Linked DNA regions of Homo sapiens: region 1 is linked to region 2. The links are contacts of gene promoters, found by promoter capture Hi-C in blood cells and fetal thymus (Javierre and others, 2016). All regions are on one chromosome and are shown on one strand. The core of a region is centred on a gene start or on the middle of the fragment in contact, and the rest is flanking DNA. Distances in the headings are between cores, read along the strand shown. Region 1 has its middle 48 kb from the start of MINAR1. Region 2 holds the start of ZFAND6 (zinc finger AN1-type containing 6).

Region 1 (5,564 bases), core at 579-3,078, 670 kb after region 2:
TGTCAACACTTATAAAGGTTCAATTATCACGTCACTGTAGTATTTGCACAGGGATTGACAAATAGGCTAATGAATGGAAATAAAGAGTCTAGAAACAGATTGACACATATGTAGATATTTGATTCATGACAAATATAAGACTGCAAAGCAGAGGGGGACATATAATCTTTTCAATAAGAAACTGAAATAATTGGGTAGTCATATGGAAAAATCAAATAAAATTGGACCCTTACTTTCTAAAACACTAAAAACAATCCAGGGGGATTATAGACTTAAATATAAAAGGCAAAATTCTAAAGCTTTTAGTGGAAATGCAAGAGACTCTCTTCCTAATTTGGGGGCAGAGAATGTTTGGCATTTTGTAGAAGCCATAATTAGCCAGGCATGGTGGCATGCAACTGTCATCTCAGCTACTCAGGGGGCTGTGGCATGAGAATCGCTTGAGCCCAGGATTCAAGGCTGCAGTGAGCCTGGGTGCCACTGTGCTCCAGCCTGGGTGACAGAACGAGACATTGTCTCAAAAAAAAAAAAAAAGATTAAAAGATTAAAAAGAAAGAAAGAAAAGAAAAGTGTTAGCCATAAACAAAAAAGATTGATAAATTATATTACATTAAAATTTAAAGTCCAGGCACAGTGGCTCACGGCTGTAATCCCAGCACTTTGGGAGGCTGAGACGGGTGGATCATGAGGTCAGGAGATCAAGACCAGTCTGGCCAACATGGTGAAACCCCGTCTCTACTAAAAATACAAAAAAAAAAAAAAAATAGCCAGGCATGGTGGCCCACACCTGTAATCCCAGCTACTCGGGAGGCTGAGGCAGAGAATTGCTTGAACCTGGGAGGCGGAGGTTGCAATGAGCTGAGATCGCACCACTGCACTCCAGCCTGGGCAACAGTGAGACTCCATCTTGAAAATAAAAAAATTTAAAAACTGTTATTCATCAAAATACCCCTTTTAGAGAATGAAAAGCCAAACCTCCAAGCAGGAGGACATATAGTCAAAGAAGCAGCAGCATATACTCAATGAGGAACAATGTAGCATATAATAACATAAAATGATCAGACAAACTTTTTGCTGCAAAGCCCTAGTGAGGTAGAGATGAGGAGAGTGCTCTGAAAAGTGGCCCCTCACCTGCAGAGAGTGAATACAAGTTATTTTGTTTTGTTTATTATGGTCAAAAGCACATAACATTAAATTTACCCTCATAACCATTTTTAAGTGTACAGTTCAGTGGTATTAAATGTATTCACATTGTTAGACAATAGATCTTCAGAACTTTTTCATCTTGCAAAACTGAAACTCCGTACCCATTAAAATCTAATTGCTCCTCCCTCCAGCCCCCAGCCCTTGGAAAATACAGGTTATCTGTAATTCATTCAGTCCTTTAAGCCTGTTTTCTCTGTCTACTTTCTCTGATTCCCAGCCTCCATTATTCATACTACTTTCTGTGCAAATTTCTCCCCTGGTCTAGTGTTGTAGAACATGGGGGTTAAATGAAGACTGTGGATTCTGGTGGACCTGGGCTGAAATCCAACAGTTGTTTTATCATTTGTAAAATCAAGATAATAAATAGTACCTAATGATGGCAGAGGCTGCTGCTATCACACTGGCTGCGGCTGGCACTGCACACTCCATGAAGCCAGTGGGAGCTCTGCCCCTTCTAAGTTGGGGGTTCAGCTCCCCAGGTGCCACTGTAGCTACCCAAAGTGTGGCTGCAGACCCAGGCCTCCCGCTCTAGGGAGCAGAATGGACCCCTGCCCAAACTGTGGCTGTGGATCTGAGCCTACCTGTGCTCTTCGAGGTTGCCAGGAACAGGCAGGATCTGCCCTCTTGGGTGCAGCTGCAGGCACCCAACCAGTGACTGCAGACCTGGGCCTTCCACTCCAGGGAGCAGGCAGGAGCCAGAGACAAGCAGGAGTCCTGCTCCTTCCAGCAGGGTGGGATGGGAACTCCCCAGGTGCAGCTGCAGCCACCTTCCCAGGTGCAGCACCTCACAAAGTAAGATCCACTGGCTTGACATTCCAGCCAGCCACCGGCAACTGGGTGGAGCCTGCTTGAGATGGGATGGAGCCCCAAGAATTTGTGAGGTGCTGTGGAAGTGGGACCCACAGAATCAGCTCCCTGGATTCTGCCCCCCTTCCTAGGGGTAGGTGCGGACCTCTCACCTTGCCTGAGTTAGACACATCTGATGGGGATCCCAGGGCCAGAGTATATAAAGCTGCTGGGTCTCTGTGCATGCCTGAGCAGTTACTCTGCCAAGACTCCACACAGTTCTGTGTGTCAGCCCCAGGGCCTGGTGGTGTGGGCTCACAAGGGCATCTCTTGATCCACAGGTTGCAAAGATCCGTGGGAGAAGCATGTTTTTCCAGGGTCACACAATCACTCACCACTTCCCTTAGCTCTGTGTCACTCCCAGGTGGGCCATCACCCAACCTTGCTCTTCTTCATTCTCCATGGTTAAGTTGTTTCCCTAATCAGTCCCAATGTGAGAACCTGGATATTTCAGTTGAAGGTGCTGTATTCACTCACGCCTTTCATTCCTCTCCGTGAATGCCACGGACTGCAGCTGCTTCTAATTGGCCATCTTCGCCCCTCTGCTGTTCATTTCTTATACAGATGAGGTCTCACTATGTTACCCAGGTTGGTCTCAAACTCCTGGGCTCGAGCGATTCTCCCACCTCGGCCACCCAAAGTGCTGGGATTACAAGCATGAGCCACCACACCCAGACTGGGTTTTTAAAAATATGTTTTATAAGGTAAAGGTCAAATTTTATTTGATTTTTCTATATGGCTACCCAATTATCTGCTATTATATCCTACCTTCTTCCTACAATCTCATCACCTACTTGAGTATACACATGGTAGACAAGAGGGGAACTTTTTGAGTTTGATTTCTCTTTGTCCCACCAGCTATACTGCCAGGGAATCACAGCATAGTCTGTGCCTCTTGGCATCGCATATGAAGCCCTTCCCTATCTAGCCCTTGCACCATTTCCAGCCTCATGTCTGACCAATAGACTCCCCCAGCTGCATAAGGCCCCTCATCATTCCCAGATGTGCCACACTCTTTCCTATTCCGACAATGATGTATATATCTTTGCCTTTACTTGTGGCATTTACACGTCTACTCATTTTTCAAGATCCTACTCAAATATTACCTCTTCCAAGAAAACTATACGAATATCCCACACTACTATTTATTTCTACCCTGTTCAGAATCCCTCCTATCCTTCAAGTCCTTTGTTTAGTATTAATCACTGCCTCGAGAGAGTTCTGGAGGTTTTGGACTGTTGAAGGAAAGGGAAGATGTACCTTATTGGGTACCTGTGACCTTGCCAATGTTTGAGAAGAAGCTTTTAGAACCTCTGAGCCAGCTCAGGTCACACCACCATCTCCATAGGAACACTGAATTTCCTCCCACAGTTTTGCTTGATGGAACATCCAGGAGCTCTTTGATGATGGGAGGTAGGTTTCTCCGATCTCTTCTCTGGGCTGAATCATGCCCCAGAAATAGGGCCATGAATTATTGGGGTCTTAGAGCTTATGCAGTAAAGGATTAACCCAAAGAAAGTTTTGGCTCTTTACCCCCAGTTTCTGGAAGGTAACATTTAAGCCCTTGGAATGTCCTGGCTTTCAAAAGTGTCTTTATAAACCTAGGACCTTGGGCCATGCCAGATAGTCTGTACTAACCATAAGATTTATGGTGAGGTCCTTGGACAACACAACATCAGCTTTATCTCTGGAGGGGCTAGAGATCAAAGTCAGTCGTATGGTGGCTAGCCATATCTATGTGACTGATTCCTCAATAAAATCTCTGGACACTGAGACTCAAGTGAACTTCCCTAGTTGGCAATACCCTAGGCATATTGTCACACATCGTTGCGGGGAGAGATAAGTGCAGTCTGTATGACTTCACTGGGGAGCGACAAGTGGGAAGCTCCATTCCTGGTCTCTCCTAGACTTTACCTTTTGTACCTTTTCTTATTGTTGATTTTCAAATGTATTCTTCTGCTCTAACAAACTGTAACCATGGGTAAATTGGCTTGCTGAGTTCTGTGACTTCATCTAGTGAAACTCTGAACCTGAGGATGGTGTGAGGGACCTTCCAAACTTTCAGAGCTTCTACTCAATACATTTCTTTTCTCCATCTAAGGGCACAAAGGATCAAATAGATATAATCTTCAACAGCCTTAAGACATTTTCCAAAACAAGATAGCAAAGGCAGCCACATTGGAAATCGGGTAGCTGGATGGTCCCTGAAGATCAATGACTATACTGATTACCACGTAAGCAATAACTGGTGCAGGTGAGAGTGGACAAGGCAGGAAGTGAAGTGCACCATGGCAGTAAAGCTGTGGGTACCTGGCGATCTACAGGCAAAGAGCCATGTCCCGTGGAGCATGCACAGGAGGTAAACAAGCAGTTGGAACAGGTAGATCCCAGATGGTGATCACACTGGAACCCTTAGTGGTGGCGTTGGTGTTGGTGAAGCACTGGGACCCTTGGAAAAGAAATAAATCGTGTTTATGCCCTTGTAATTGACTTTGTCAATGGGAATAAAGACTATATTGTGTTGGTAAGAACAATAGTATGAGATACCCATGAAAGATAATATAAAAGAAGCTTCCCTGCACCTATATCTGAAAACACTACTTCACAAGTAGATGATCTGATTGAAATTCAGGATGAGGAGTGGCAGGAAGGATAGGTGGCTGAAAAAGCCATTAGCCATACTGGTAGAAGTTCAGAGTGAAGTGGAGGACATAGAGAAAGGGATTAAGGTTTCCAGCCAGGAGTTTAGAGGGTAGAGGTAGTGAACTTCTGAGCCAAAGGAGCTGAGCACCCAGAAGAATTGTGAAGGGCAGACACAGCTTCTGGTAGCCTGGGGAAGGCCAGAGGGCCACTGTGGGATAGGTGCTGCCAGTGCAGGCCAGGCATCACTGGAAGAATGACCTCTCCCTTTGCAACAGAACTTTAGCTATGCATTCTGGCATTGGGCTCATGTGGGTATCAGCAAGTAGCAGCTCCAAGCAGGTACTACTGTCAGCCAAGAGAAGGTAGGGCTAGTCACAACTATTTTGTTTTTCAGTGAGGCAGAACACAGAGCAGAGTCTGGGGGTCCAGCCAGCTTATAGCCTCCCTAGAAAGTTCCTTCCAGGAATAATGCCTGCTAAGCTGTTCATTCCAGTTCAGTTCCTCAGTAAAGAGTCAAAACTCAACAGTACCATGAACCCATGACCTGCGCATGGCTTGCATTGTGGCCTTGATGTCTATCTCTTCCTAGGACAGGCCTGCCATTCATGTTGCTGAGGACTGCCGAGAGGATGGGGTGATCTTCATGTCCATAGCTGCAGAGCACAAAACCCAGAAGGGCAGAGACTTCTTCCTGCAAAGTCCAGAAAAATCTAAGCCCTGTTGAATAATGAAGCTCCGCTCAAGCAGCTACTTTGTACACAATGCACATGATTTTACTAATGGGGAAACTGGGGCCCCAAAAGCTTAAATTGCTTCTTCATTAGTGATAGAGCTGGTCACCTCTAGGCTGTGATGCAATATTTTTAAGT
Region 2 (5,443 bases), core at 1,293-3,792:
TTAGGACAAGTTTCTTTTACATGAGTATGCTAAGGCACAAGAGAAATTTTTAAGTAATTTGCTAGAGATTAGAGGGGAGGAGAGGAACAGCAGAAAGGATAATTTATTTTACATACAATCCAGCGTTTTTTCTACTATACTATTTTTGCATTGAAAAGGAGATACCAAACAGTGCCAGACTTTTTACAATGTGACTTCAAAGTAAGAGAGTCATTACACATAGGTTAACAGGAATTTTGGGTTTTCATGCAAATGTTCAACTAGGTTGAACTAGTTCAATCACTACGGCTATGAATCTTCTATTTAAACATAATAGAGAATCCTAATGTTTTTCATTCATCTTATTTCTAAGTAATTCAATCTATTCTAGTCCTGATTACCTAATACCGTCTAATGCAATCCACATTAAGTATTTACTCTAGAGAAATTCTTGTACTTGTGTACCAAGAGCCGGAAACAAGAAATGTTCACAGAGCAAGACTGCTTATAACAAAACAAAATAAAAAACAATAAAAACACGGTCGAAGTGCCCATAAGTTATGGCAGATTAACATATCATAAAGCAATGAAATAAACTACAGCCACATACTATTTTTATAAAGCTCAAAAGAAAAACAAATTAAATGCCACACAGTTTCGGCATACAAACATATATGATAAAACTATTTTTCAAAAAGTCAAGGAAGTGACATACACAAAATCCACTGCACAGATAAGAAACTCATAGACAAATGCAAGTTTTAGTAATGTTCCAGTTTTGGGTTTGGGGGGAGTCATCAAGGATTTATGATGTTTTTATCTGCTTATACTTTACCGTGTTTTTTTTTGGTAGTATTAAATATATTTTGGTTACTTCTTAAAAACGTTACTGACATATAGTTGACAATAAACTGCACATATTTGAAGTGTAAAACGTGTAAGTTCTGACATATGCATACACCCAAAAAGTTATCACTACAAGATAATAAATCCACCGACCCCTGTATTTTCTCCTGCACATTTGTGATGTCTCCCTTTAAACACATTTTAAAACGTAAAAAAGTAAAAATAAAAAAGACAACTTGTTTTGGAAAGCTAAACGTGCATATTTTGCAAAACATTTCCCCTAGGGCTCTGGAGAAACTATACACAACTCAGAAAGTGCCTTAAAATTGGTGACATGGTTACCGAACAACTAACCTTAAAAGTTTATGGTATTTTACACTTTTAAAAAATCAAATTCCGATTTCGGTTTGAAAGAGGAATTTAATCCTGTTTCTCGGAGCTTCAAAATCATTAATTCTGCCCGGCTTTTTTTTGAGACGGAGTCTCCCTCTGTCGCCAGGCTGGAGTGCAGTAGCGCGATCTTGGTTCACTGCAACCTCCGCCTCCCGGGTTCAAGCGATGCTCCTGCCTCAGCCTCCCAGTAGCTGGGACTACCGGCGCCCGCCACCACACCCAGCTAATTTTTGTATTTTTAGTAAAGACAGGGTTTCACCATGTTGGCCAGGATGGTCTCGATCTCCTGACCTCGTGATTAGTCCGCGTCGGCCTCCCAAAGTGCTGGGATTACAGGCGTTGAGTCACCGCGCGTGGCCAATTCTGCCCAGTTTTTATGGCCCAACAACTTAATATAAATTATCTTTAGGTAACCCCAAGGTCCTAACTTCCTCACAACTGGTTACAACTTCCGAGATGTGAAGGTAAATCATAGCGTCCCAACTGTGTAGGATAGTTAGCACGTGACTTAAAAACCAAGTTAAAAAGATTTCAAACACAATATTCTTTCATACTTTTTTAGGTAGCTAAAACTTAAATATAACTATTTCAAAAAAGCAGACAAAAAATTTAGAATCCTAAGCAAGCTAAACCCAAGCAGGAAAAAAAGAGACCAATTCCCTTCCCGGTGCCAGTCAGGAGTTGGAGACACCGGGCTGCCTCCGGCTGGTTTCTGAAAAACGCCGCAGGTGGAAAAACATCCCGAAGAGGACCTGAGACTCGGAGGAGGCGGGGAACTGACGCGCCCCAGTGTGCCCGGGGCCCTTCCGACCCCCGCCAGCCAACCGCTCGCAACCCGCTCGGGGCGGCGCGCGTCGCGGCCTCCGCGGCCCTGAAGAACTGAGGCTCCCGACCCCAGCGCGACCACCCTGACAGGAAGCGGCCCCCGGCCGCGGGCGCCCGCGCGCCGTCTGAGGTGAACCCGCCGATCTCCGGCCCCCACCCCCGGAGCCGGGAGTCCTCGCCCTCTCGCCCGCGGCCCCCGCGGGCCCACCACCTGCTGCGCCGGCCGGCCGCCCTCCGCTTCCGGCTCTCGGGCGCCGGGAGGGGCCGGGGGCGGGCCTCGCCTAGCTGCAGCCGGGTGGGGGAAGGGAGCAGGCGGGGGAGGGGCAGCGCCGGGCAAGCCGGGCCCCGCGGGCCGCGCTCCTCACCTGGCGGCGGGTCTCTCCGCCTGACACGCTGCGCGCCGCCGCCGGTAGCCGCCGGTGAATGGGTACAGGTAATGCCGCCGAACCCCTGCTTGCTCCGGCTCCGCCACCGCCGGCCCCTCCGTCCGCTGTTTATTAAACTTTTCTGTTTGGTTGTTCGGCCTATGACGCGACCGCGGAGGAGAGCCACTGGATTGGCCGGCTCCCGCGGCTGACGCGCGGGCCCCGCCCGCCCGCTAATTATTACCGGCGCGGGCGGGGCCGCAGGCCGGAGGAGGCGGGGAGAGGCGGGGTCAAGGCTCGGAGCGCACGGCAATTGGCCGGAGGCAGGAAAAGAGGCGGGGCGGAGCGAAAGGAGATGCTCCTCCGCCTTCTGCACCTCCAGTGTCCCTTGCTCCACTGCCCTCTCTGGGGCGCTTCCCGCCGCGGTTTCTCTACCTCCAATAGCTACGGGAAGGCGATTAAGAGGTGCCGCGGAGACTTTAAGGGCTTGGTTATGTAGGTTCAGGTACCTTTGCCACCTCGCAGGGAATGGCGTGTCCCTGTCTTGGACTGAGGCACCAAAAAGAGTTGCACTCCACCTGCCACTTGTGCAGGAAGGAATTCTGAGCTTCTGTCTTCCCATGCAGGCCGGCGCCTCAGTCTGCAAGCGCAAAGTCCGAGCTCAGGGCGCATACTGGAAAGCAGTTCTCTGCCCTGTCCTGAACTGGGACTTGGAAATAGAAGCAAGACGAGAAGCGTGCATGCACACGTGTGCAATACATACATGCACAGGCACAAGCACCCCCAGTTCCAGCCTGTTCCAAAAGCACGGGGTCAGTTCCCACCTGCGTGGTGCACGCTGGGCTGCTGCGCTGGAACTAGGGGTGATAGGCAGAATGGCTCCCCCTGAAGTTTTTCAGCCTTCGTTCGGGCTCACGAGCATCACGAGCAGGAAGTACGTGACACTTTAGTTCGAGGTCATTCAATCCTATTGTGAATGAGGAGTTCCGTTAGGGCATCCAGGTAGGCGAGCCCAGTCCTGAGAATCCTCTTTATTTTAAATGTTGGTATTTTGTTATTCATGGATTTTTTTTTTGCATTAATTTTAATTTTAAAAAATAAAAATGTTATTCATCTTGATCACTTAGTTTTTTGGTGCTCCCTTAAATGTTGTGCCTGAAGTGAGTACCTGTTGAGCATTTAGCAACACAGAAGTCACCTTGGGGAGTACAGTTTAAGTGGAGGACAAAAGCCTGATTGGAATGGTAATAAAACCTACTTGTTAGGCTATTTGTGGGGGTTAAATAACATAATATGTGTGAAAGAGCTTCTTGAACTAGCAAGGTTATGCGTCAAGTCTTACGGATTTTGTCTTAAATGTATTTTTCTTCCGATTCTTGTCCAGTTTATCGTTGTATTAACTCCAGCACCTAACCCAGTTGGATTTTCATATGCAGTTATTATGAATTTGCAGAAATTGGGTTTACATGACCTTTACTGCTTTCCTTTGTTCCAGATTCGTTCTGGGAGATTGAGAGATTATAGTATTGCATTGTGACGTGGAATGCAGACAGACCACTGTCACTTACTAGCTTTGTGCTCTTAAGAAAATTGTGTGAAATGGGAACGAAAACCTACCACAAAGGATTGTTATGAGGGTTAAAAGATACTGCATTTCTATTCACCCAGTAAATGCTATATGCCGACTCTCTGCCAGCCTGTGCTGTAGGTGCTGGAGACAGCATTAAGAAAGATGAAGGCCCTTCTCTCATTGACTTACACAGGGGAAGAGAGGGAGCAGAAACAATAAACAGTATACATACGCAACCTACCGGTCAGTGTACATAAACAACATATTCACAGCACCTGGTATGTAACAGATGCTCAATAAATGATTGTGTATGCATTATTATTTCCAGCCCCATCTTCTTTCCTGTGTTCCAGAGCAGGACATTCACTGTGTGCTTATCACAGCCATTCAATATGTCCAAGGCTTATTTTCCCCCAAACACATTCTTCCTCCTGTAGTCCCAATTTTGGCTAATGGTGACACCATGTTTCCAGTTATTAAAGCTAGAAACTCAAGCTTTATTGAGATTTAACACACATATCATTACAACTTACCCATTTTTAAAGAATACAATTTGCTGGGCGCGGTGACACATGCCGGTGGTCCCAGCTACTCAGGAGGGTGAGCTGGGAGAATTGCTCGAGTCCAGGAGTTCTGGGCAGTAGTGCACTGTACCCACTGGTGTCCACAGAGGGTGGGGGGCACCATCAAGTTGCCTAAGAAAGAGGACTCTGCCCAGGTCCAAAACAGAGCAGGTCAAAACTCCTGTGCTGATTAGTAATGGGATCATGGCCATTGCACTCCAGCCTGGGCAACATAGCAAGACTCTGTCTCCTATTAAAGAAAAAACAAAAAGAAAAATGAAAGAAATTATACAATTCAGTGGTTTTTAGTATATTCACAGTGGTGCAGTTATCACCACAAATCAGTTTCAGAACATTTTGTCACCCTATAAAGAAACCTTGGCAGGGTGCAGTGGCTCATGCCTGTAAATACCAGGGTTTTGGGAGGCCGAGGCAGGTGGATCACTTGAGGTCAGGTGTTAGAGAACAGACTGGTCAACACAGTGAAACCCTGTCTCTACTAAAAATACAAAAATTAGCCAGCCTTGGTGGTGCACACCTGTAGTCCCGGCTGCTTGGGAGGCTGAGGCAGGAGAATCACTTGAACCCGGCAGGCGGAGGTGGCAATGAGCCGAGATCACGCCACTGCACTCCAGCCTGGGTGACAGAGCAAGACTCCATCTCAAAAAAAAACAAAAAACAAAAAAACAACCTTGTACCTATTAGCAGTCACATTCCCCTTTCCCCCAATCCATGGCCCACCTCCACCCCTAGGCAACCATTAAGCTACTGTGTGTCCCTTAAGTTTTGCAAGTGATCCTTTGGCCTCAGCCTCCTGAGTAGCTGGGTCTATGGGTGCAAACTACCATGCCTGGCTAGTTTTGCCTGTTTTGGACATTTCATAAATATGTAGTCATATAATA

The links. Contacts are between HindIII fragments. The CHiCAGO score rates a contact against its expected background, and 5 or more counts as called.
Region 1: a contact is called between a fragment that was not itself captured here and the fragment with the promoter of ZFAND6 in region 2, in 4 of 17 cell types (naive B cells, total CD4 T cells, total B cells and 1 more). The highest score is 8.0, in naive B cells.

What each region holds. Positions count from the first base shown.
Region 1 is chr15:79,381,905-79,387,468 of GRCh38, reverse strand. It overlaps a transcript of TMED3 not described here. Among named protein-coding and RNA genes, the nearest start is that of MINAR1, 48 kb to the left of the region's middle. The HindIII fragment of the contact is 3,054 bases long and covers 302-3,355 here.
Region 2 is chr15:80,056,775-80,062,217 of GRCh38, reverse strand. ZFAND6 (zinc finger AN1-type containing 6) reads right to left here and starts at 2,542. Exons shown (of 7, transcript NM_019006.4): 1 at 2,409-2,542. RefSeq lists silencers at 1,970-2,839, 2,536-2,864. The HindIII fragment of the contact is 4,474 bases long and covers 2-4,475 here.